Linked DNA regions of Homo sapiens: regions 2, 3, 4 and 5 are each linked to region 1. The links are contacts of gene promoters, found by promoter capture Hi-C in blood cells and fetal thymus (Javierre and others, 2016). All regions are on one chromosome and are shown on one strand. The core of a region is centred on a gene start or on the middle of the fragment in contact, and the rest is flanking DNA. Distances in the headings are between cores, read along the strand shown. Region 1 holds the start of MYF5 (myogenic factor 5). Region 2 has its middle 40 kb from the start of PTPRQ. Region 3 overlaps PTPRQ (protein tyrosine phosphatase receptor type Q). Region 4 overlaps ACSS3 (acyl-CoA synthetase short chain family member 3). Region 5 has its middle 17 kb from the start of PTPRQ.

Region 1 (5,285 bases), core at 2,558-5,057:
CTGATTCCCAGAGCTAATAGCAATTTGCAATTGTTGAGCACATTGTGAAGTCATCTATAATATAAAAAATATCAAGAACAACTCCCTTAGTCCAGGAGTTGATAAGGATCTGCAGGCAGGGGCAGAAGTGAATTGGAATGTATGTATCCTTCTATATGTATTTGGTTTCTCCCTCCAAGAAAAGCATAGAGAATTTTCAATAATGCAGAAAGCCTAGGGTGGGCAAAATTTATTAGAAGAAGAAGGTATGAGCATCATTTTGCTGGTGTGATCTGTCCATCAATATTAGTGTGTTGCCATAATGCTTAAACTAACACAGATTTCACTTAAAAAAAAAGTTGATGTTACGTAAAGGTCATTGCAGTTAGAACCTGGTTATAATTCTAAATTGTAAGAAAATCAAATGTATTTATTTTTTCAGAATATAAAATGAAATAAATAAATAAATAAATACTTCACCAGAGCCTTAGTGGGTATCCATTTATAGCACCAGAGGTGACTGGGTTTTCTTCCCCTCAACTACCTATGGTTAGACTTTCCTAGCAGACAGTGTTGGAGTGTCATTTCTAATAACCTGTTTACATATGAAATAAATGTGCGTTTTCTCCGCAAGCAAGAAATCCACTTCTTTGCAGAAATAGTGGAAAACTTATTTTCATTCTTTGTGTGAGGAGCAAAAGCCAATCTAATCCGACTTTGAGTACAAAAGGGTGCCCTGAGTAGATCTTTTCAGAGCCATTTTTAAAACTTTTCCCATGCTTCCCTGGCCAACCCACTCAAAAAAAAAAAATGCTTTTCTCTATGTTGCTCACCCAGTTCTTTCTTTTTCCCCTTCCAGGTCTCCCCTGGGAAAAGAGCAGGGAGACCGCTCCTGAATTGGGACACTGTAGCCATCTTTGTGGTGCTGGCTGCCTACTGTCTTAGCATATTGCCTTTTTTTTTTCTCTCTCTCTCTCTCTCTCTTTCTTCTCTCGCCCCTGACAGCGTTTTAAAAGTTTTGTCTTATTTCTTTTTACTTTGGTACTCTGAGATCCTATTTTCAGCACTTGCGTCCCAAGGGCTCTCAAGTCCGGACCCTGTTCTCCTGCTAGCAAGTCCCATTAAGCCGCCGGGCGCTTGTGTTTTCTCGGCTTCTTTAGTTCCACTCGCTCGCGGCACTCTGGTAACTTTGTTTTGAGATCACCTTACCAGAGACAGCTCTAACCTCTGAGAACTACCCTTACTGACAGAGGCTCCTGAGTGACGGCGTCTTCCCAGGCACAGGAGCCAGGGAAAGATGTTGAGTAGCCAGCTTTTGCGAGTTTCTGCTCTGGAGCCCTAAGGAAGCGCACGGAGCCTAAATTAATTGAAGAAGAAAACAAACAAAATCACCTCTAGGAGTAGGAACTATAATGACAGGATGCCTAGTTTCCAATCCTGTATGACCTTGGGGCAAATAACCTAGTCCCTGGAGCTCGAGTTTACTTTCTTTCTACAATGGGCCCAATAATAGCTCCCACAGGGTGGTTTGGAGTATTAATTGTTAAGTTAATCTAAGGAAAGGGTTGAGAACAGTGCGGGGCAAATAGAAAATTCTCAATAATTGTTAGTTAAAAATATTTCGCGCTGAGGGGCTTGAGTACAAATCACGTTAAGTGCTTTCAGAAATTAGCTGAAAGATGAGCAGAAGCGTAACCTCTAACTTTCACTCAAACTTTAAAGACCAAGTTTATTTGTGTCCAAAGCACAAGTCCGAGCTAATTTGTGGACTCCACAGCCAAAAAAATAAAAAAGTGGTCATATGGCTGCTAATAGAAACTGTGGGACTTGGCTGAGAATTCCTGGGGGAGGATATCTACCCACTATTGTATTTCAGAGGTAGCAATGTGCTTTGCATTTGCTGTGCATTTGAATGTTTCCACCAGCGTGGATGGCATCTTAGTTTCCACCTGGGTTCTTCTTGAACTTGCCTCTTTTTATCTGGCGTAGCCCTGGATACCGTATTCATTTCAAAGGCATAGACTTGTTAATAGCCCTAAAAAAGGTGCAGATGGATTTCCCACTGGTCAGATGATTAAGCAGCCCATTGGTGTGAGAGGGAACCTGATTTTCAGGAGAGATCTTTTTCTTAGAGATGACAGGACAGAAGAGAGGAGACAGCAATGGTGTGGCTAGCAAACCTTAGTGACTGACAGTGTCACTCTCCCACCTCTGGTTTTCAAGGTCTTCACTTTAGAGAGATCGCACCCTGAAAAGGTTGCTACTTCTCTGGCCCCTGAAGATGCTGGATCAATGAACCAGTGTTGCTTTAAGAAAATAATTCTGAAAAAAAAGTACAAAGTACCATTCACTGAAAGAAATAATAATAATAATAGGAAGGAAAACTCCCTCCTCCTCGCAATAACTTCGGAGCCACTATATTTATTGAACTGGGTTACCCTAGATTGAGTTGAGAACACTCCTGCTTCTTTCAACGGGGCCACAAGACCTAGTCCAAAACCCCAAGACTAATTGTGTAGACCTTAAGTAATTGCTTTTCCTAAATATAAACAGCACCTCCCCAACCCAAATAACCTGAAAGTGGATTAAGGTTGGAGGAGGATTGGTAAAAGCTGATTAATAGATTCATTCCCACTTAAATGACAACCCTCCCCTCTTGCCTTCTATCCATCGAAGTTCTAAAGACCCTGCTGTGATTGCTTTTCTGGAAGGCTTTTGTCACTGAAGTGTGTGAAGTTACTCCTGGTTTGAGGAGTTGGAAATTTTACACGAGTCAAGGATTGCAGTGGCGGCAGCTGGGACGCATCTGTAACGGTGTTAGTTTGCCTGAAAGCAGAAAATTAGCAACCCCAAAGCCCAGCTTGGCTGTTTAGTCTGTAGAAATGACAGGGCGGAGCAGAAAGAGAGGGAGAAAGGAGACTCACCCCTGGAAAGGGAGTTTGCCGTCGAAAACTGGGCTTCTTCTGTTGGAAATCTTAGAGACACTTTCAGTGCAGGTCTTTGGCCTGCTCAGGATCTAGGGAAGGCCTGGCACAAAGGAGAAGGTGCTCAACAAATACGTACAGAAGGGGAAAATGAAGGAAGCAAGAACGGGAGGAATGTTCCTGGTCACCTGGCCCTCCTGTGCCCCACCTCCTTTTAGATGAGCAGACATACAGGGAGAACTCAGAGCAAGCCCAGTCATGGGAAAAGGAACCTCCCTCCCTACTCTCAATAAGGTAGAGCCTAGAATAAATGACAATCTGAGCAAAACTTTACTCATCTGAAGCTATACAAAATAGATTTGGAAAGGCAAACCCTGTATTCACTCCAAGATTGAAAATGCCACTTCAAGTTTTTAGTAACCGTTATTCAATCCAATTGCTGGAAAAAGTTTTCGAGATAATTGAAGTTCATGAAAAAGAGAAACAAACACCCCCAAATCAGGTGATTCCTCACGCCCAGGATTGGGAGGGCAGGTCGGCTCTTGGTGCCAGCTGAAAGGGATTTCTATTTATTACCACTATTTTAAAATGTGTGTCCAATTGCAAAAAGTTGGACTGCCTTGGTCACTTTTGTGTGAAACACTCCTTAAGTGATCCCTTGTTTTAGCCTATCTAGAGAGTGCAAATGAGCAGGTTGGGGACCCACTGCCGCCCCAGCAGAAATACAGTAAAACCATTAGCGTCAAAAGGGGCAGTACACAGCAGATTGTCTGTAGAGGAAAGGCGGAGGTTTGTCCAGACAGCCCCCGCGGGGGTTGCGGTGGGATATGCTAATAGTGCCTGGCCACTGGGGCCGGCCTCCCTCCCGAAAGAATATATAAAGAACCCCAACCCCAGCTTGTCTACCCAGGCCAACAGGCGTCTGCCCTTGTTAATTACCGGAGCGACAGACTAGGGAGCTCCGCCCGGGATTTGCCCATCGGCGGAGGCGCCAGGCTCCCGTTTCTCCCCATCCCTCTCGCTGCCGTCCAGGTGCACCGCCTGCCTCTCAGCAGGATGGACGTGATGGATGGCTGCCAGTTCTCACCTTCTGAGTACTTCTACGACGGCTCCTGCATACCGTCCCCCGAGGGTGAATTTGGGGACGAGTTTGTGCCGCGAGTGGCTGCCTTCGGAGCGCACAAAGCAGAGCTGCAGGGCTCAGATGAGGACGAGCACGTGCGAGCGCCTACCGGCCACCACCAGGCTGGTCACTGCCTCATGTGGGCCTGCAAAGCCTGCAAGAGGAAGTCCACCACCATGGATCGGCGGAAGGCAGCCACTATGCGCGAGCGGAGGCGCCTGAAGAAGGTCAACCAGGCTTTCGAAACCCTCAAGAGGTGTACCACGACCAACCCCAACCAGAGGCTGCCCAAGGTGGAGATCCTCAGGAATGCCATCCGCTACATCGAGAGCCTGCAGGAGTTGCTGAGAGAGCAGGTGGAGAACTACTATAGCCTGCCGGGACAGAGCTGCTCGGAGCCCACCAGCCCCACCTCCAACTGCTCTGATGGCATGGTAAGCAATAGATCTGGTACCTGCTAGGCTACCCTAATCTTTTCTAAAGTCCTTACACCTCATTTAACCTGGTGTGGTGGGGAGAGTGGGGTGGAGGCAGATGCTGAGTTGCTTTAAAAGAAGAGAGGGGTCCACATTTAGAAAGACTCCCCAAACCGCTGCTGAACAAGATTTTAGTTTAACTTTCTAGCAGGTTCTAGGTGTACACTGTAATCGAGTGTTGACATGGAAGATGGGTGGCTGTGAATGATCACTCAGATGTTTTCTCCATTCCTGAATTTATTTTCAAAATATGCCATCTGTGGATCATGCCCTACGCTAATATCTAAAGGCACCGTTTCTAACTTAATGAGGAAATGGAAAGAAATACCCACACGGCCCCAGTTCCTGCTCCAATGAGGCCTGGCTGAAAGATGTTGATGCATTCTTTTTAGAGGGCGTTTGCTCCAAGGCTGCCAGGTTTTAATGTGTTTTTGCCCTGGGAAAGTGTTCTTTCCCTGAATTAGTGTGGCTTTCTTCTACTCCAATCCATTTTGCATGGTTAACCCAATGCACATTGCTGCTGAATTCCACCCCCTCTTCCCTTTGCTGCTGCTCTCCTCTTCTTCAAGCACAGAGATTGACCTCAGTGCCCTGGGAATTTGGAGAGGGCTAGCCCTTCCTAAATCAAGGCAGTGAAGGTGATTGACAGTGTTCGGTTACAGAGCTGGTGGGCAAGCACAGCCTCACCTTTGGTCAGAACATCTTTTGCCAAGACCTGAAAACAAACTTTGTTGTGTGTCTTGTATTATAGCCCGAATGTAACAGTCCTGTCTGGTCCAGAAA
Region 2 (5,462 bases), core at 2,049-4,548, 310 kb before region 1:
TAGTGGAAAAATTATGCAGCACTCACCTATTAATGCCTTAACATTCAATTGGATGAGCAGTCATTCTAAATTGAAAATTCATGACATTAAAATGATATACACACACTCCATTTAAAGGATGTCCAATAGTTTAGTTTTGAAGCTAAAAAATACATGTTTAATTGAACTGAATACACTTTACTTTGCAGATGGAGAAATTAATTATTCTGCTGCTCTGGTTACAGTATGTTGTTAAGGTAAGACATTTTTGAGTGCACCCTCTTTGGAATAATTAGCTAATGGGCAAGATGTGATTGCATTGAATCTATCATTCTGGAAAATAAGGAGTATACTGAAGGGAAATAATGCTAAATATCAGGTTTAGTACCTAAGAAAAAAAATTTTCTTTGCTAGGTGTCACTCACATATGTATTTTTATAGCTTAAAAATTGTGTTGGAGATAATCATGGAGATAAATCAGAATTTGGGAAGAAGACAGAGTATAATAAGGCATTTCAGAGTTGTTTTTGGTAGGAATTTTGATACATATATTCTTTTGAAAGTTGAAATTTTTTTGTCATTGAGGGAACATCAAGGGTCTCTGATTCTGTGGTCTATCTTACTTTGTTTGCTAATATTTTCATTATGCATAGATGAAATAAGGGTCTAAAATGACTCAGTGTCAAACATTTTGTACCCAAATGTATTTTCTTTGCAAACGTGTTGTCAAGAATGTCTGCAAAATAATTCAGTTTTGTAGACATTATCCCCAAGGTTCACAATTGGCACTCCAGGAGGGTTTGCCATGTTTTCTCTGAGATTTTGAGTCTCTGCCTCGTCCCTTACCCCAGGGATACAATGTTTCCTAGTTAGAGAGACATGGATCTTAAATTTCCATGCTCTTATTTTACTTGCTTTACTGAAGTCATTTTCAAAATTATATTTATAAATAGAGTAACTGACAGAGTAATTCATGTGTAGACACTGATACTGCTGAAATGTTTAAAAATTATAATTTCATGTATTTTAGGTGTCATTTTAATAAATCTGCTTATAAAATAACAATCAAGAATGCATTTTTACTGTTTTTTACAGTTTCTTCGCTTTTCCATTTTAGATCTCAAAACATTTTCATTATATACCAATGAATAAACAAACAACAGAAGTTTTTATTGAATGGGATGAATTTCCTAAGGGAGGAAATCCTGAATTTTATTTTTTAAAATATCAACTTGTTAATGATTTTGCTCAAAGAGTAAGGAATCTTTTCTTGGTTCTGATAAAAAGTAAGCATAGTGTAAATCTGGTGTTACCAAGTGCCACATTGTAAATAGGAACCTAATAGTTATCAGGGTTTCTTATTTTATTAATATATAAAATGTTAGCATTTTTTGAAATATCTTTAATAAGTAGATGATCAAATAATATTTAACTTTTTCATAGGAATGACTATTTGTCTTTTTAGAATTTATATACCAAAGGAGAATAATTCTTTAAAAAATGTCTTTTATGTAGAAATAAACATTTCATATATATATTTATATTCCACATTGAAAAACTACTTTTATGAAGGAGATATACAAAAGTCAAATTTTTAATTAATGTGCCTGGCTTAGAGATAATGTTCAATAAACATTTCTTAAGCAGATGAATATAATTATTTGCAGAATGTAAAAAGTATTCTCGCAGACCCACAAAGATGTCAGAAATTAATAATAACACTAAAGGAAAATGAAGATTATCACATCATTTTACAGTCCATGAGATATGGACAAATTTTAAGTGAAAAGTCATTTCAAATTCGTAAGTAATGTATATGTTGATCAACTATGTAAACTTTCATTACCAGATAATTTAAATTTTACAATGATTAACAGGTATAAAATGGTACTGTAAAATTATAATAGTATTATTTTTTACATAATGTAAATCTCAGAATTTAAAGAAAATTATAAACTGAGGTAAGAATATAGTTTTAAATTTTGGCATTTTATGTGTACTAGTGTGAATGGATAGGTAGAGTGGAGATTTTACGTGTTATCCAGATTATGTAAAAAATATAATGTGGTTCTGTAATCTAATTCATTCATTCTATGTAGAATAGAAGAAACTCCCATATAGTCTAGAAAATATTTTATGGGTAGATAATGTTTTCTCATCATGGTGAATCATGTAACTCAATATCCTTTGTGTTTCATTCAATTTTATTTGAATCTGTGCTAATTATTCTCCCTGATTTTTTAGGTGGAATCTCAACTAGCAATATTAAAACAATAGCAACAAGTACAAGTATTTCTTTTAACTGGAGTGTGCCCTCTTCCAAAGATATATCAGTGTCAATATCTTTCAATAATTATTCACAAATTATGCAAAATAATGTTATGGTTTATGAGTGGGGTAATTTAAAACCTGCAGCTTTTTATGCTTTCACATTTGAATTTAAACAGTTACACTTGGATTTCATAAATATATTTCAGAGACTGGATGTTCAAGTTGAAACAGGTATATAGACATTTGGTTCATCATTCATTATATATTTATTATATATTTTGTAGATAATGTAGCAGTTATATTGTATTTCAAAAGAAAGTGATCTGGCCAAGTATTAATCACTGCAGGCTGCTTGTAATCAAATTAGCATAGTCTCCTTTTTTGACTATATCATTCTGGTATCTGACTGATTATTGAACAAGCTGGACTTAGCGGAGTAATGGTAGAAACCAACCTAATAACTTTATTTTCTTCCCAGCACTTCCTTTAAACCCAAGTGGGTTCTCTTTTTCTTTACTCTGACAAAGAGTCATACAAATTCCATAGCGTTTTAGGTTACTTTAATGAGTCAACAAACAGTCTCATTTTCAGGTATTACAAGATCCATTACAATATATTACAAACACACTGATCTTTCATCCTATTTAAAGCTTCTCTGTTACTCATCTATGATCAGACCTGACCACAATTAGGAAAAGTTTAGGGGAAAGGTGAATGTGTTCAATTTTAGGGTCTTCCTAGTTTCATGTCTTTCCTCCACAAGGTGGGAACAGGTAGAAGGGGACAGAATCATAGATAGCTGATGAGGGCAGGACACTCTTTGTGACGGTCTGAGAGTGTCATTTTAATATCCCCTACAGGAATAATAAAAAAGATACAACACATGTATTGTACAAGTGAAGTATAGAAACACTCAAATAGGAAGAAAAAATAAAATAAGGTAATTAAGCGTCCTTTCTCCTGTGGGGAAAAAAAAAGACAAAAGATCTTCAGAACTTTCTCACATATTCCTACTGTGTTGAGTTGAGGCACTGGTAGAATATTAACATGAACTGATGTGCAATATTTTCTCTGAACAGGCTGCTATTTTCTCCAGTCTTTCTGTGGTACATAATCTTGGAGAATAACGCTAAGCAGCCATTCCTGCTTTTTTTCTGGAAGGTAAACACTTTTGAAGTCAAGTGACTGAGAGCAAAATTTTTAGCAAGCATTGTGTCTAGTACTCCAAAATAAAAAGAAACCTGAAATGTGATAAAAAGTTTGCTACCAATACAAAAGTAAGGGAAAAGAAAGGCAATCTAAAGTAAGGTTTTCTTTAGAAAGAAAAACATCGTTTTTTATTTTAATAAAGTTATAATTGGACAATAATTCTGCATAACTAATTCTTACAGCTATTTAAAAAACCATGTTAATTGGTGGTAGTTTATTTGCTCCTTGATTAATAAACAAAGCTTTAATATTTTTATTGGTTTGAAAGTAGTATAGGGAAGGTGCACACTTAATACTATGAGGTTTTCATAATTAACTTGTATACATATTAAGAAATATAATTATGAAATGTTATATTACTGAATTCATCTTTAACAGGGGATTTTTCTTTTGGTAGGATCGTGTTCACAAGGATGGGCAGCATTAAAAAATAACTGTTATAGAATTAACAATGACAGTAAGCCATGGAATATAGCCCAGCAACATTGTAAGTTATCCTTAAGTTCTGCACACCTTGTGGATATAAAAAATGAAGAGGAAAAAAGTTTTGTATTTTCGTATCTCAGGTCAAACAATCAAATAATAATATGGACTGGTCTTAATGATATGAAGGTCAGTAAATGTAAAGAAATACATATATTGTGATAAATGAAACTTTATTATCTATATTCATTCATGCATTCTTTATTCATTGATTTCTTCCTTCATTAATTCAATACAGTTTCTCTTTCTATAGATACCCAGTTTAATATATTTTTAGGCATCTTTTTTAAAACCTAATTTTCCTTTAATTTTGGTATTCCCCAGACCATTTCTAAGTTCATTTGAGTGATTTCATCCATTTCTTCACTCAATTTATCACCTGAACCACCAATTATTCCTAAATTCTTTATCTAGTCTACTTTCCTCTTATGAGTCCAGACATATATCTAATTTTCTTCTGATTATCCCTCTGGCACTTCTTGCAGACACTGTAACATTGCCAAGACTGAACTTGCCTTCTCCCTCTAATCAAACCTGTTTCACTTCCTTTATTCCTCATCTCTGCAAACAGTGCAATAATATGAACCCCAAAACATGAAAAGTGTTTTTCCATTTTCTTCTTTTCACTCCACACATCAGTCTTGTGAAGCTCAATTTTACTAAAAGCAATACAGAAAGATCTGGAGATTTTATTTAACACTAGTGAAATCAGGAGTGTGTAACATTTTTCTTCAACATTCCTAACACTTTGGAAAGTCTCATGAAACTTCATTTGGTCAGCATTTTGTAGAGAAACTCAAGACCTAACATAGTCATCTCTGTCTGTCTGTGTTTTCTTCTTGATGATCCACTGACTTTTATTTCCTGGCACTCAAAGATAAATATGTTCTCCTTGAGATATCCTTATCTATAGTGAACTAAGGCAGATCCTACCAATTTGATGCCAACTTTCCTGTGGAGCTTTGCATAAGCTTGGGAAAACCTCTAGGAATCCTTAATTGCATTTTAAAAATTATTATTTTATTGAGTTTTCTTTATCTTTTAATAGGCAATGAATGAAATTCTAATAAAGATTCCTTAAATCACAATTCATCTTAGACATCTCAGACTCCCTCTCCCAGCATGCCAGTCTCTTCTTAGCAAGTAGACCAGTTAATGTGTGTGTGTGTATATATATATATATATGTATATACACAACTATATATGTATACATATATAGTTGTGTGTGTATATATTTGTGTATATATATACACATATACACACATATATATACATACACACACACACACATATATATATACACACACACACACACACACACACATACAGTTGTTTCCTACTGTTAGCATGATATATTAGGAAATTGGGGCACAGGGAGATTCACTTGCCCATATGGACATGCATCAGATGCTACCCTTAACCATGATATTTTGAGGTTGACATCAAAGTTACCTGCTACATCATAATCCCCATGGTAGGTTCAGAAAGTAATTACTCCTTTAAGTAAATCTGTGCTGAAT
Region 3 (4,650 bases), core at 1,058-3,557, 260 kb before region 1:
AAGTAAATTGCTCAAAGCTACTATCTGGGAATTGGTAGAACTACAGTTAAGCCAAGGTTATGATTCCAGTCATGGCATTTGCAAAAGCTTGAGTCTTATTCTCATTAATGACATTTTCTTTTTCTATTCTAGTCTATTGGAAGATATTATTCAAATCAAATTTTTTTATCTTTAAAATTCTGGAATTCTTAGTTTAAATTATTAATTAAATGTACTTATCTAATTTATTTTTTTAAAACAGTTTTTTGAGTATTTGTTTGCCTGATTAGATTGTGAACTCTAAATTAAGGTACCATATACATGGTCTCTTGCATTTGTTACAGAAATAATTGTAATGTCTTTTATGTAGTGGATATATCAGAGAAAGACTGAGCTTTCAAAATAAACCCAACTGCAACTGGATTCTTGCTCTACCATTTATTCCTGTGTGACCTTGGGCAAAGGTATTTGACCTCTCTCAGCCAGTTTTCTCATCTATACAATTTTGACAATAATACTTTATTTGTTGATTGTATAGATATCTTCATATTTGCCTTCTTCCTTGAGAGTATTAAAAAAGTATCTTTGGCATTTATCTTATGGATAAGTCAAAGTTTTGTTTTAAATTTTAGATTCTCTTTTTTCAGGGAGTAAAATGTTTGAACACAATCCTTTTGGTCTGTTCTAGGTTGCTGCTGAAAACAGTGCTGGCATTGGAGTGTTTAGTGATCCATTTCTCTTCCAAACTGCAGAAAGTGGTAATTTTCCTGTCATTTATTTTAAATTGACTTAGTCATGAGTTTGTCGTTTAAAATAATAAAGAACATAAATAAAAACTGACACTAAAATACATATAATTCTCAGTAGCATGGCCACTTAATTAGTTTTAGAGTTCTTTCGGATAGCTAATTTATTCCTTAAAATATATATTATTCTTTCTGATTATAAGAACAGTAAATGTTATCTTACAAAACTTTGAAAAAACAAGAATAAAAAATGAAAATTATCCATAGACTTATCATATAAAAAATGCTTTTATCATTTTGGTGCATTTCTGGCTTGTCTATTTCCCCCATTAATATGTATCTATATGACTATACATTAATGAAAATAAGCTTGTGCTACATATGCAAGTTTATATCCTGCCTTTTCTTTTTAACATGAAGTCATAAGCTTGTTATAACATAAGACTTTTGGAAACACGGATTTTAATGGTTATTATATTATTGGGTAACATGCAGTCATTACCAAACCAATTTAAGATACCTCCATTCTTCCAGGGGCATAGAGGAAAAATCTTGATGTCACCTGTGGCTCTTTTCTCTCACAGTACACATCTAATCTATCAGTAAATCTTACCAGCACAATCATCAAAGTGTATTCTGAATCTCACACTCATTGCTGACATCCTGTCCAACATTATTCCCAAGAATTGTTGCATTATATTTTATTTTTATTAGAATGCAGCTGTCCTGAAGTCCCTTAATTCCTACCTTATATCATTCATATAGACCTCCTTCCAAAGATCTAACTTTCTTATGTAATTTATGTGGCTATTACTTATAAATTATATTTTAGCATCCTTTTGTACAATGTAAACCTAAACTCTAGTTATTTGGCATCTTAATACTAGGCATCTTTACTATCACTTATTTTTTTTTTATCTCAGACGTTTTGTTTCATTTTGATTTCTTTCAAAAATGACTTGTCATGTTTGTTTTATATTCTGAAGGATCTTGGTGTTTTACTCTATCAGTTTTACACACTTTACCATGAGGTTAATGGGAATAATTTCCCCTAATTCTAGCTTCATATTGGTTTCAAGCCAACTCAAATAGAACTCAGATTATTATTATTATTACTCTATATAATTAATAATTGATAGAAAAGCATAATGAAATTCTGAAGTAAGTTGATTTTGAAAATGTAAAATACAATAATTACAACCAATTGCAGGGTATCCACTTGATATTAGGCACTAGACATTTATAAACATTCCAGAAATCTGCTTTTTGGTGAAAATGGTTGTATAATTGATTCAGTTTGCTATGTTTTTCATATCTAATGAAACTACATATTCCAAAATAGTTAAGGAAATAAGAAATTTATCCCAACTTGTTTGTATATTCACAACTATTGATTGAATTTTTTTCATACTTATTTGAAACGTTTCATCAATGCATGTATTAGCCCAGTTATCCTAAAGTAAAGTTGACTTGCCCCAACTCCAGTTTTTTATTTTAGGCAAAGTTCAGTTAAATACATTTATAAAAATCTTACACAAATAGATTTTATGCAGTGTATTATATATTTAATTTCATGTACCATGAAATTATATAAATGCAATTCTAAGTTTTATAACAAAGTTTTTTCCTTCCCAATCTTTCTCTTCCCCAGCTCCAGGAAAAGTGGTGAATCTCACAGTTGAGGCCTACAACGCTTCAGCAGTTAAGCTGATTTGGTATTTACCTCGGCAACCAAATGGCAAAATTACCAGCTTCAAGATTAGTGTCAAGCATGCCAGAAGTGGGATAGTAGTGAAAGATGTCTCAATCAGAGTAGAGGACATTTTGACTGGGAAATTGCCAGAATGCAATGTAAGTATCACAGAACACTTTCTATGTCTTGAAAAATCTTAGATAAATTTAATTTTCATATTTCTAGCATCTAGATACTATATTTTTACCAAAGTTTTATTAGTTATTTGATTACTTATGGTATCATGTTATACACAACGTTTTATTATTTGATTACTTAGGGTATCATGTAACACAATTGGCCTCATTCAGGTAGAATACAGGAATGGTTTGAGAATTCAAGAGTGAGGGATTAAAATCATTTAGGGAATTCTGAAAAGACTTCATCAAAGGAGTAGCATTTGTGATACACCATGGAGCAAGGACAGATAGAGATTTTGTGATGGTGGCATTCCCGGTGGAGGATACTTTATAAAGCCCTGAGGTGGAAAAGTGTAAGATATAATTGGAGAAAATATTTTACTTCCATATGACAGGAGGGAAGAGTACATGTAGGGTAATAGTTGAGGTTAAATTTGCAGAGGTAGACTGTCATTGTTGTGCATATCTTTGGTAAAGAATTTGTCGTTACTCTGGTCATTGATGATAAACCTCATAATAGTAATGCTTTATTATAGAATAAGCATCGTCATTTTAATTATATGATAAGCATAATAATGCTTTTCCTAAAATCATTTTGGTAATCTCTGTGTTACTATTAATGCAAACACAGTCAAACAGTTATTTTTGCTGTAAATACTTTATAAAAGTCTAAAAATCTTCTTTTTCAACTTATGATATAGTTCTAATACACGCACACACCTAACGTGTGAGCTAGTGGCATACTACTACTTTTTAGTACTTATGAGAAAAAAAAGTTCATTAACAGTAAGAAAGCAGCATTTGAACATACACAAGAGTAAAATTATTTCAGCTCTTTGGCTCTTGCACTGTTAACATGAAGCTTAAAAATTCTTACAGATGATTGTGCTGTAGTTTTACCTTTATTTTAAGCCACTTGAAATTCTATTCGTAAAGGTTAAGGTATAAGGAATACAATAAATATGTCCTCTTCTAAAACTGCAGACATAAATGGGTACAATTAAAATCTAGCAAATTTGTCTATAACTTTTGCATGTTATGTGTGTATGTATAGCATAAAAGAAAAAGAAATGAATTACATGTTCTTATTCTTATGTTCACCAAGAGATACAACATTATTTCTCTATTGATCTTATTTTATTTACTAGGAGAATAGTGAATCTTTTTTATGGAGTACAGCCAGCCCTTCTCCAACCCTTGGTAGAGTTACACCTCCATCGCGTACCACACATTCATCAAGCACGTTGACACAGAATGAGATCAGCTCTGTGTGGAAAGAGCCTATCAGTTTTGTAGTGACACACTTGAGACCTTATACAACATATCTTTTTGAAGTTTCAGCTGCTACAACTGAAGCAGGTTATATTGATAGTACGATTGTCAGAACACCAGAATCAGGTATGGTTCACTTTTTGTAGATAAAAAGATTTAAATGATTAGAGAATAATGTTTAATTTATGTAGATATTTAATTTTAATCTTCTTTACCTTTCAGTAACTTTTTTCCCCTAATAATATACCATAGGCATCCCATCAAGGGTTTCTTCGAATTTCTATACTCTTTTATATTATAGCACAAAATAAGTATTTGAAAGGAGAAAGATTTGCAAAAAACAATTCTTGAGCCACTGACCGTGATCCTCATATAGCTTTTATCATTTTATAATGTCAGCAATTTTTAGTAATCATCTTTGCCGTTCTAAATGATTTATAATCATTTACACCCTTCTCTCACTGTTATTGCCATCATCAAAAGCAGAAATACCTGCACTAGCAGAACGAGCATGTGATCAACATTTAGTTATCAGATACAAGCAGTAGCTAAAATATATACCTACTTATATCCCATTTGCACTGCAGTTTCCTCATCTGAAAAATAGAGACAGTAATAGTACCTTCCTTAGGGTGCCAGTGTTAAAATTAAATGAGAATAATTAGATATTATCATTACTACTGAATTTTATGAGAACATATTTTTGGTAAGGTATTCATATATTTAATTATGGTACTATATCAGTATTCATGTAAATACATGTATTTATGTATTTCATATA
Region 4 (4,678 bases), core at 63-2,562, 500 kb after region 1:
ATGGTAGAAGGAACACATTCTGAGTACTTTAGAAGATGGATGCCTTTAATTTTTTTGGATTACTTTAGATATGATGGGTTTGGCAGTTAATTCCTTGGGTATATGTATGTGTAGGTTATGTGTGTAATACTAAGCAAGTAATTCCCAAACTTTTCACTAACCAAATACTATTTTCCTGCCCTTTCGTACATATATATTTTGTATTCAAAAGATTGTGTTAACTCCAAACTTGCTTTTATGAATGTTAATAAGTGCATCCCTCCATTAAAAATAACCACTTTCAGAACTTGTGGTAATCAGGTAATAGCTAATATTCTGGCTGTTACAACTTGAGACACAGAAAACAAATTTAGCATTTTTGTCAATCATTGCAGGCTAGTTGTGAGAAAGTTCGTGGTTTTGATGAAATAGTCAGCAGAGTATAGTCATCTTCCTCCCTGTGTTTTGGGGCTTCTAACATCCAGGAACAGCAGACTGAACAACTTGAAAAACTATTGCCAAATTTAGCTTTAAATGCAGGTTCTCTAGGCAAGTGTAGCTCTTAGGAAATTAGAGCATGATATTATCCATATATATTATATATTTTTTTAATTTATAAAGACATTTTATTAAAATGTTTTTTTCTGTGTGTAATCTTTTTTTATTTTTATTATTATTATACTTTAAATTTTAGGGTACGTGTGCACAACATGAATTAAACAATGAGAACACATGGACACAGGAGGGGGAACATCACACACCGGGGACTGTTGTGGGGTTGGAGGAGGGGGGAGGGATAGCATTAGGAGATATACCTAATGCTAAATGACGATATTATCCATATATTAAAAGTAATGGCAGAAACCGCAATTACTTTTACATCAATGTAATAATTTCAAAAATCTTTGGGTTACTTATTCCGGAGAATGAGCTAGAAATAACAAAAATGTTTTGACACAACTGTAATTAACAATGATAAACGAAATAACTTTAGGTGAGTCAAGAGAAAGCATCTTTTCTAGTGATCATTTTAGCTTTTAGTGTGTGTTATGGAACCGTCCAAGTCACATAATTTTCCATTCTACACGCCTGCTGATCCACAATTGCAAACGCTAGAGCAGCCTTTCTTTTCTTTAGAAGAAACACTACTATATAAATTTTTCTAATTATGAATTCTTAAGTTTTAATACTGTGGATATGTTATAAGTTACTAGATAGCTTTAAATTTTTAAATAATATATTTGCACTATTCATCTATTCCTAACACAGCTGCATTGTATGACAAACTAGGGTGGGGTAGAGTGTGCATGTACTCAAGAAACATTATGATTCCAAGTTAAAACATGAAGTGATAAATAACATTTCTTTTTCCAGAGACTGGATCTCCAATTACTGCGTCATGTGTTGGATTAGGCAATTCTAAAACACCTCCACCAGGGCAAGCAGGAAAAAGCGTCCCAGGATACAATGGTAAGGAATGACCCTGATAATACGTAAAGTTAATAAATTTGGCATTTTCTTGCATCTAGTGTGTATTATGTTGCATGAAACAAACTAGGGGCTTAATTAGAATCTGGTTGAATGAATGCCTTGTATTAAAAATGAATGCCTTAATTTTTGCTATCAAAAGTATGTTGTGGATTTCCAGGATATGTTCTAAATGACTGTCATAACCACAAAAATAATATCATTAATAAGGTATGTTAGGAATATGGGTGTGAAATTACTATGAAGGAAACACCTGCTGGGAGCCCAGTACTTTATATATGTCTTTTCATTTCATGCTGAAGTATATTTAATTCAGAGCTATCATTACTATTTTAGAGATGAGTTAACCAACTGGTTAACAGAATAAATAATTTTCTTGAGATAACACTGCTGGTTAGATCCTGGGGACAATGCAAACCATTGTCCTCAGAATTTGCTTGCTTTGATTTCAAAAGCTGCAGTTTCTTACTGTATATTACACATGCTGCATTTTAATTTAGGATTGAGGACAAAGTTTTTAAACCTTATTGTTTAATAATAAAAACAGGCCGGAAGTGGTGGCTCATGCCTGTAATCCCAGCATTTTGGGAGGCCAAGGCAGACGGATCACATGAGGTCAGGAGTTTGAGACCAGCCTGGCCAACATGGTGAAACCTCGTCTCTACTAAATATACAAAAATTAGCCGGGTGTGGTGGTGTGCGCCTCTAACCCCAGCTACTTGGGAGGCTGAGGCACGAGAATTGCTTGAACCCAGGAAGCAGAGGTTTCAGTGAGCTGAGATCGTGCCACTCCAGCCTAGGCAACACAGCAAGACTCTGTCTCAAAAAATAAATAAATAAATATAAAAATAAAAATAAAAACAAAGGGGGAGGATCCCAAAAGAAAACATTTCTTTGATGCTGGCTTTATGTGACTAAAAGCTATAATATCCTGTCAATTTTTGTTTTTAAATTTACAGTAGTAACCATTATTATTAAACAATTTATCTTGGATGGCTCTCTCTAGGTGTATAAATTATACAAGTCACATAACTTTTTGAACACTGTTTCCTTATTTCTAAATAAGAGTAACATTTTTATATGCTTTCCAGGGCTTCTGTTTTGTGATGTTATGCAATAAAGCATTAACACAGTGCCTACCAGTAGAAAGGCAGAATATGTCTTAGCTAGTAGTGCTACTAATATTTCAGAAAAGTCAGAGGACTGACTTGATTTAGACTAACACATTCATTTTACAGACAAGGAAAATGAGGCACAGAGGTTTTGTAATTTGCTTAAGGTCACACAATTTGGCTTAGTAGACCTATGAAGAAAACCTAGCTTTGGGAGACAAAATATGATTCCTAACATATGTTTCTTATTTGCATATAAACTACAAAATTCAGAGATTTGACTTTTGCTTCTCTAACATAAAAATATTGGATTTCCCTTCTAGGACAATGGCTAGTTACAAAAACGTGGATCATTTGGTTTAACCTAGCAGATACATTTATAAAAAGATACTTCAGATTTTTTTTTTATTCAAGGCGGAAATAGATATTCTGTGAAGTCAGTGACTTCTCCAGCCCTGGAAAGGTGAACCCAGATTTAGTGAAATCCTCTGTTTAAACAGTCTGTCATCTCTGCTCCTTTTATCAGAAAAAAATGTTTTGTGTTGAGACATTTTTAGGGGTTTCTGATGGTGGAAGACGTTAAACACATTTCTCTGTTAGTATTTCAGTGCCATTTTTATATCTAGTTGTAAGAAATAGTTAAGCTTTCTTCCCTCATGTAACTTCAGTACAGAAGTTTCTCAACTGGCTTGCAGACAGTACAGGTTAAACATTTAAAACCAAGGAATCAGTGACTTTATGACTGATAATTTTTATGTTTTGTGATTGTTTAGAGATTAAAATCATAATGTAATATTAAATAGTATAATAATAAAAAAAAACGCAGGATCCTTTTAGGAAAGAAAAGAAAATCCTTTTTGTCTAAAAAACAATTAATTTAATATAACACATTTATTGAGTACCTTATGCAAACTTGTCACTTTGCATACATTTTTAAAAATACTTCTTGCATAAGCACTATGAGAAAGAGATTTCTCCCATTTCATAGACAGGGAAACTGAACGGGTTACAGAATGTGCCTGGGGCATATAGTGATTTGGCCACTGTACTGAGATTTAGGGAAACAAAGATAAATTAGCCATGGCCTCCGTGAACTCACAATCTAGTTAGATACAGATACTTCTACTAACTGTCAATACAGAATTTTAAAACAAAGTGCTCCAGGAACACAAAGAAGGGAACAATTAATTTTTTTCTGAGAGCAACAACCTTCTTTTCTCATATCTGCTTAAGGTAGAATTACCTGGATGAATGAGGCCACATAAATAATCTATTAAAGCCTAAAAGATGATGACTTATCTTCATATTTAGTTTGCACCAAGGGTTACTGAATGTGGATACAAGCTTTAATCTCCTAAACTCTTTTAGGATTCTATCAGGACAGCACAGAAAGTATTGAGATAATATTTGGGAAGATTAAATTGACCAAATTTAAAGCTCCTAAGTGGATATTACGCTTTAAATCAGAATAAGGGGTTTTTGGTGCTTGTAAGTATTTTATTTTTGTTGCGTATATTTTTTGGTGTGTTTGAAAACTTCATTTCCTTTACTTTTTAAAAAGCTGAACATGTTTTTAATGCTTCTAATAGATTACAAGGGTATATTTAGTGGACATAGACATAGAGATGAAATTACCACGTTTGAAATATGATGTCTTCATTTAAGGGATATTCTGAAGGAAAATTTCTGATGTTATTAGGAATCAGATACATGTGCTCTTTATTTTTTTGTAAGATATTTTAGTTTATATTTGTTCATGGTCTCACAGGAATTAAAAGATTACTCTCTTAAGCTAGAGCTTTTTGGGTTGAATATAAAAATATAGAAAAATGTTTAAGCTTTAAGATTATGAATTTTTATTCAAATATTTATATTTTACTTTGTAGTTATGATTTTGGATGACAACATGCAAAAACTGAAGGCTCGGTGTTTAGGAAATATTGTGGTAAAGTAAGCAAAAATTTCAATACTACTATATTAAAGGGCAAAAACTGGTGTATATACTAAGAAAAAATGGGGTCATTGCAGTGTTACTGCTACTGAGGAAGTTGTAGAAAGAACTTGTGTGTTGCTTAAGAACTGTGTCAGCTGTGTTGTAA
Region 5 (4,990 bases), core at 243-2,742, 290 kb before region 1:
ATTAGTATTATGACTAACAAGGGACTGAAAAGAAGCCATCCTACTGTCCTCATGGTTAGCACTTGTAAGTTCATTTTATATTTAATTAACTTTTCATGGGTAAAAAGAAGAGAGAAATGGTTGTATTTAAGGACAATGCCTAATTAGAAATGAATGACTAGGAAGTGGTTTGTGATATGCTGGAAGAGAAGGAGCATTGCATTTACAGGGAGAATGTCTGAGATATATTCCTGCCTCTGTCACTTATTAATTATGTGACCTTAGGCAAAACAACTGTGTTCTCACCTAGGAAATGAGAATAATTATTCCTGCCTAGGTAAAATAACCTGTTACTAAAGTGAAATGTGAAACTCTTCCTGAAAGTGTAAAGTACTCTAAAACCCTAAGGTATTATTGTCATGAAATAATATTTCTCTAGTACTTGGGCTATATTAACATTTTATGAAAATAAACTTGGGGTATGAAAAAAATAGACTTTTTTATTTAAAAATACTGTCTTTTTGATTGAATTATTTGGGTTCTGTTTGCCTCTTCTGACCTTATTAGCGTAACTTGACATATATGCTTGCTCTGAACATGTGTAGCTATTTCAGAGTCCTTTCACTTGTGGGGCCCAGTCCTATGAAAGTGTGCTCAAGTACCAAGGTTCTCTTAGTTATGAGAAGAGGCTTGATCTCAGAAGTTGCAGTGCAAAGGAAGGGAAGCACTTAAAATGCAGCAATGGTCAAATCAATTCTTTGAAATAAACTAAACAAATTGAGGTATGATTATACTCCAGCGTGATATTATGTGCTTTAGTCACTGCATCAACTCTCTGCAGGCTACTCAAAATGTAGGTTAAGGCTTAGAGGTGTTCATAACTCATTGTTGAAGGTGAGATTTTATCCCGGGTATCTAAAGCTGATATGACCCTGCTGCCTCTCATAAAGACCATTAGAAGAAATATCAGAAATAGATGAGAAAAGTTTTCAATTTTTTAAAAAAGATAGCTCATTATTATATATCAGTGAAAGCTTAGTTGCTGCTTAGATTTGGGTGTTGTTGTTCTCATTGTCACCATCATCATCACCATTGTCATCATCACATTGATTGCATCACATTGAGAGCCTTCATCAGGTACTCTGCTAAGCATTTTCTATGCTTTATATTGCTTCATTATGAATGACAACCTTTATTCTACCAATCATAATAAGATGTACATTTTTTTACACGTTTTTCAAATGAAGAAACAACAGAGCCTTAGAGAATTTCAGTCACTTATACTAGATGACAGAAATTTGAATTCACATTTCTCTGACATCAAATTCTGACCTTGTAACCCTTGTGCTTCAGTGGAAAGGCCACTGTGTTATAGGAAAGACTAACTCTACCCATTCTAGCTCTGCGACTTTGTGAAAATCGTCTTCTGTTTGCACTGCAAGTTCCTTATTTCTAACCTGGGGTTAATAATAATGCTTTCCATAGTTCGTGATGTTGTTGCCTTTTTGATTGTGTTTTCTTAAACAAGACTGGTAACCTTTTTTTAATGTCTTCCATATTGCAATCTGTCTTTTGTCTTCTATTGTATATTATTGATATTTTTATCTTTTTAGTTACCTTCATTTATTTGCAAGTCCCCTCAAGTCAATTTGGAAGTAGATGGAATATTAATAAATGTACAAAATAGAGTTAAAATATATTATGGGATAATAAATTAATTCTAGTTGTAAGGGAATGTGCATTATAGAAAAATAGAATATAAAAGAGTATGAGTCAGTGATTCAGGTTAAATCTACCACAGAGATGAATTCTAATAAACTTAAATCAGTAAATGTAAGTAGAGGCAAAAAAATCCCATTCAAAATTTGAATTTTTAAGGTGAAATTATTTTAATAAAATGTTAATATTACATTTCTTCTAGCAAAGGAAAGCAATACAATAGTTTAATTTGCAATATAGGTTTGAAATAGAGGCATGTTACCAATTTGGAAAATAAGCTTCTAGAACCATCTCAGGTAAAGTGGTTACAGAGAAAAGGAATTTGTGAACTTAAGGAGGGGAGATATATTTCTTTCTTTATGCAGTATATAAATTACAAGTAAACAATACCAATTGTAAGAACTTGAAGTTGGATTCTGCTGTGAGAAAAATAAATGTGAAAATCCATAATTTTATTATTGGAAAAGGCTTTCCAGAAATTCTTTTTTCTTTTTCATTGTAGATATAGAGAGCCTAGACTTGGGGTAAATAGCTTGCACATGGTCACACAGTGCTAAAATTGACTGGATAAGCCTAGGTTTTATGTCTCATATCTAGTACTCTTCAAAGTCAAGGTTATTGGTTCAGCCTAGATAACTTAGTGGTAGAAATGTCTTTTAAAAGATGTCCCAGTGTCTTATTTCATTTCTTTAGATCCAGATCCATCAGATTTGCTAATCTGGGGGCAAGAAGAAAACACGATATGTTTGTCTTGGAAACTATCAGAAGGAGGGTTTGAAAAGTTTCAGGTAAAGAACACTGCTGCTCTCATACCATCTTGATGTTTATCCAGGTCTTTATTTCACTCCTTTTTTTTTGTCCTTCATTTTACATTAATGGTTTTAGAAATTATTGTGCCACTTTGTTAATGTAGGATTTCTCCCCCAAGTATTTCTTGTATTTACTTCTTTAAAAGTACATAGTTGTTATGGAAAGTATTTAAATATGTGTAAAACTGATATCTGATTTTCGATGAGTTGGTTTTTTTGGTGGACATAAACAAGTACATATGTAGTACCAAGGAAGTGAATAAAGGAGTGGTGGTGCTGGAGGATAATGCTCCTGTAACAGCACTGGCTGGCAAAAAGACTCCAGTAGTCACAGCCACGTGATGTGCCACATGCTCTTTCAGTCCCATCCTAGAGATTTAATTGGGTGGAGACTTTTAGCCTAAATAGCACTTTCCAACTGTGTCTGTTATTCATCAGGTAAATATGTACATTTTCATTGCCTTTTTGTTAATAATGTAATCTGGCAGTGGGCATGAGGACAAATTATACTCGCTCTACATCTTATGGTTTGCAAATGGAAATGCTTCTAGTACAGCATTATTGCTTGGTAGTCTGTGGGAGCAATAAACATTTCCAGTGGTAGTCTGTGGGAGCAATAAACATTTCCAGTGGTAGGAGATGGTAACTTTAGTTGCAAATAACATAAAACAACCTAAAATAGTTTAAGCAATAAAGAAAAAAATATTAATACAAGAGTCCCTTATGAAGACCAATAGAACCGGATGTTGGAAAGAATTGGAATCAGCTATTTCAAGGTCATTGAGAACCCAGGGATTATTTTCTTTTTGTCTGGCTACTTCTTTCTGCTTATTGGCCTTATTATTATTTTTTTTTTCTGAAGACCAACTTTGTCTGCTGAGCAATCCATGTGGTGAGTAGAAGAATGCCATACACAACTTCCAAGCACAAATGGGCACCAAGAAAGATAATTTCTCCCTAAATTCCCAAAGAAGGGAATGTAATTATCCCAGGTTGGAATAGAAAGCCAATCCAGATCCAGTGAAACAAAACAAATGGAGTTGGCCTCTATTATCATGCTTACCATTTAAGATTTGAAGAAATAAGCAACAGGAAATTTTTTTTTAATGAATGAGGGCATTATGTATGCCTATAGACTTAGTTGAATGATTTTGAGAACAAAAACAGTTTTATTCATTTGAAAAATTCAACATTCAAATTCAAAAAATTCATTCCTTCAACAATTTCTTGTTCTCATTGTGCTTATATTCTAAAGAACTAGAGGAAGTTAGATCAAGCCTCTTAATATCTTTATCCTTGGGAAGAGCAGATAACTCTCTTTCCCTAAAACCAAAAGGAAGGAGTACTATTTGTTAAAGATCTGGTTGATTCATCAATGTAAATTTCAAAAGGGAACAATCTTAAACGAATACCTTCTTCAGTCACCAAGTATTATCAATTCTACTATTGCAATGTAAATTCCATTTGGCTCTGCAGGGTCCTCAGAACACCAAACTCTCTAAAAATTCTCTAACAATGTAAAATAATGGCATCTGTGCAGCATGTAAGGTCATTAAAGTCTATATTATAGAGAACATAAGGACACACATATCTTAAATTTTTACTAGATTCACATATATTAACTTCAATCAGTTTTGTTTTTTCAGGAGAAGAAAAATTCAATTTTTTTCAGGAGAATAATTTAGCTCTTAGTGATATACTTGCATGTAATATTCTGGTAATAAATTTGATAATACAAGTTTCTTTACAAAACAGATATCCTATTTTGTTTTGCCCAGCATTCTGAGAGTTCAAAAGATAAGGAACATTTATTAGTATGGACAAATGTGAAATTCATTTGAACACCAAATATGTGTTCTAGTGATTAATTCCCTGAAAGTATTAGATTGCTGGCTTTCTTTTCATGAGTGATGGGAGTGCGGAGATTTTTTTTTTTTTTTTTTTTTTATGAGACGGAGTCTCGCTCTGTCGCCCAGGCTGAAGTGCAGTGGCGCGATCTCGGCTCACTGTAAGCTCCGCCTCCCGGATTCACGCCATTCTCCTGCCTCAGCCTCCCGAGTAGCTGGGACTACAGGCGCGTGCCAAGAGATTTATATCCTTTAAAAGAATCTCAGAACTGGCTGAGTGTGGTAGCTCATGCCTGCAATCCCTACACTTTGGGAGGCCGAGGTGGGCAGATCACCTGAGGTCAGGAATTCGAGACCAGCCTGGCTAACATGGTGAAACCCCATCTCTACAGAAATGCAAAAAAAAAAAAAAAAAAAAAAAAAAAGCCGGGCATGGTAGCACGTGCCTGTAATCCCAGCTACTCAGGAAGCTGAGGCAGGAGAATCGCTTGAACCTGGGAGGAGGAGTTTGCAGTGAGCCTAGATCATGCCACTGCACTCCAGTCTTGGCCTGGGAAACAAGAGCAAAACTCCGCTTCAAAAAAAAAAAAAAAAAAAAGGAATCTCAGAATTGTAATGGAACTGAAGGCATAGTCT

Evidence for each region. Contacts are between HindIII fragments. The CHiCAGO score rates a contact against its expected background, and 5 or more counts as called.
Region 2: a fragment that was not itself captured here is called in contact with the fragment with the promoter of MYF5 in region 1 in 2 of 17 cell types (M2 macrophages and M1 macrophages); the score reaches 5.9 in M2 macrophages.
Region 3: a contact is called between a fragment that was not itself captured here and the fragment with the promoter of MYF5 in region 1, in 1 of 17 cell types (M2 macrophages). The highest score is 5.1, in M2 macrophages.
Region 4: a fragment that was not itself captured here is called in contact with the fragment with the promoter of MYF5 in region 1 in 1 of 17 cell types (neutrophils); the score reaches 5.7 in neutrophils.
Region 5: a contact is called between a fragment that was not itself captured here and the fragment with the promoter of MYF5 in region 1, in 1 of 17 cell types (M1 macrophages). The highest score is 5.0, in M1 macrophages.

Annotation. Positions count from the first base shown.
Region 1 is chr12:80,713,105-80,718,389 of GRCh38, forward strand. MYF5 (myogenic factor 5) reads left to right here and starts at 3,808. Exons shown (of 3, transcript NM_005593.3): 1 at 3,808-4,460; 2 at 5,254-5,285. The coding sequence starts at 3,960. The HindIII fragment of the contact is 7,979 bases long and covers 1-5,285 here.
Region 2 is chr12:80,401,990-80,407,451 of GRCh38, forward strand. No RefSeq gene overlaps it. Among named protein-coding and RNA genes, the nearest start is that of PTPRQ, 40 kb to the right of the region's middle. The HindIII fragment of the contact is 801 bases long and covers 2,899-3,699 here.
Region 3 is chr12:80,456,908-80,461,557 of GRCh38, forward strand. It overlaps PTPRQ (protein tyrosine phosphatase receptor type Q), which reads left to right. Exons shown (of 45, transcript NM_001145026.2): 4 at 668-737; 5 at 2,377-2,576; 6 at 3,746-3,995. Among named protein-coding and RNA genes, the nearest start is that of PTPRQ, 15 kb to the left of the region's middle. The HindIII fragment of the contact is 2,307 bases long and covers 1,155-3,461 here.
Region 4 is chr12:81,215,548-81,220,225 of GRCh38, forward strand. It overlaps ACSS3 (acyl-CoA synthetase short chain family member 3), which reads left to right. Exons shown (of 16, transcript NM_024560.4): 10 at 1,354-1,449; 11 at 4,466-4,529. Among named protein-coding and RNA genes, the nearest start is that of MIR4699, 59 kb to the left of the region's middle. The HindIII fragment of the contact is 3,817 bases long and covers 1-3,221 here.
Region 5 is chr12:80,425,066-80,430,055 of GRCh38, forward strand. No RefSeq gene overlaps it. Among named protein-coding and RNA genes, the nearest start is that of PTPRQ, 17 kb to the right of the region's middle. The HindIII fragment of the contact is 963 bases long and covers 1,012-1,974 here.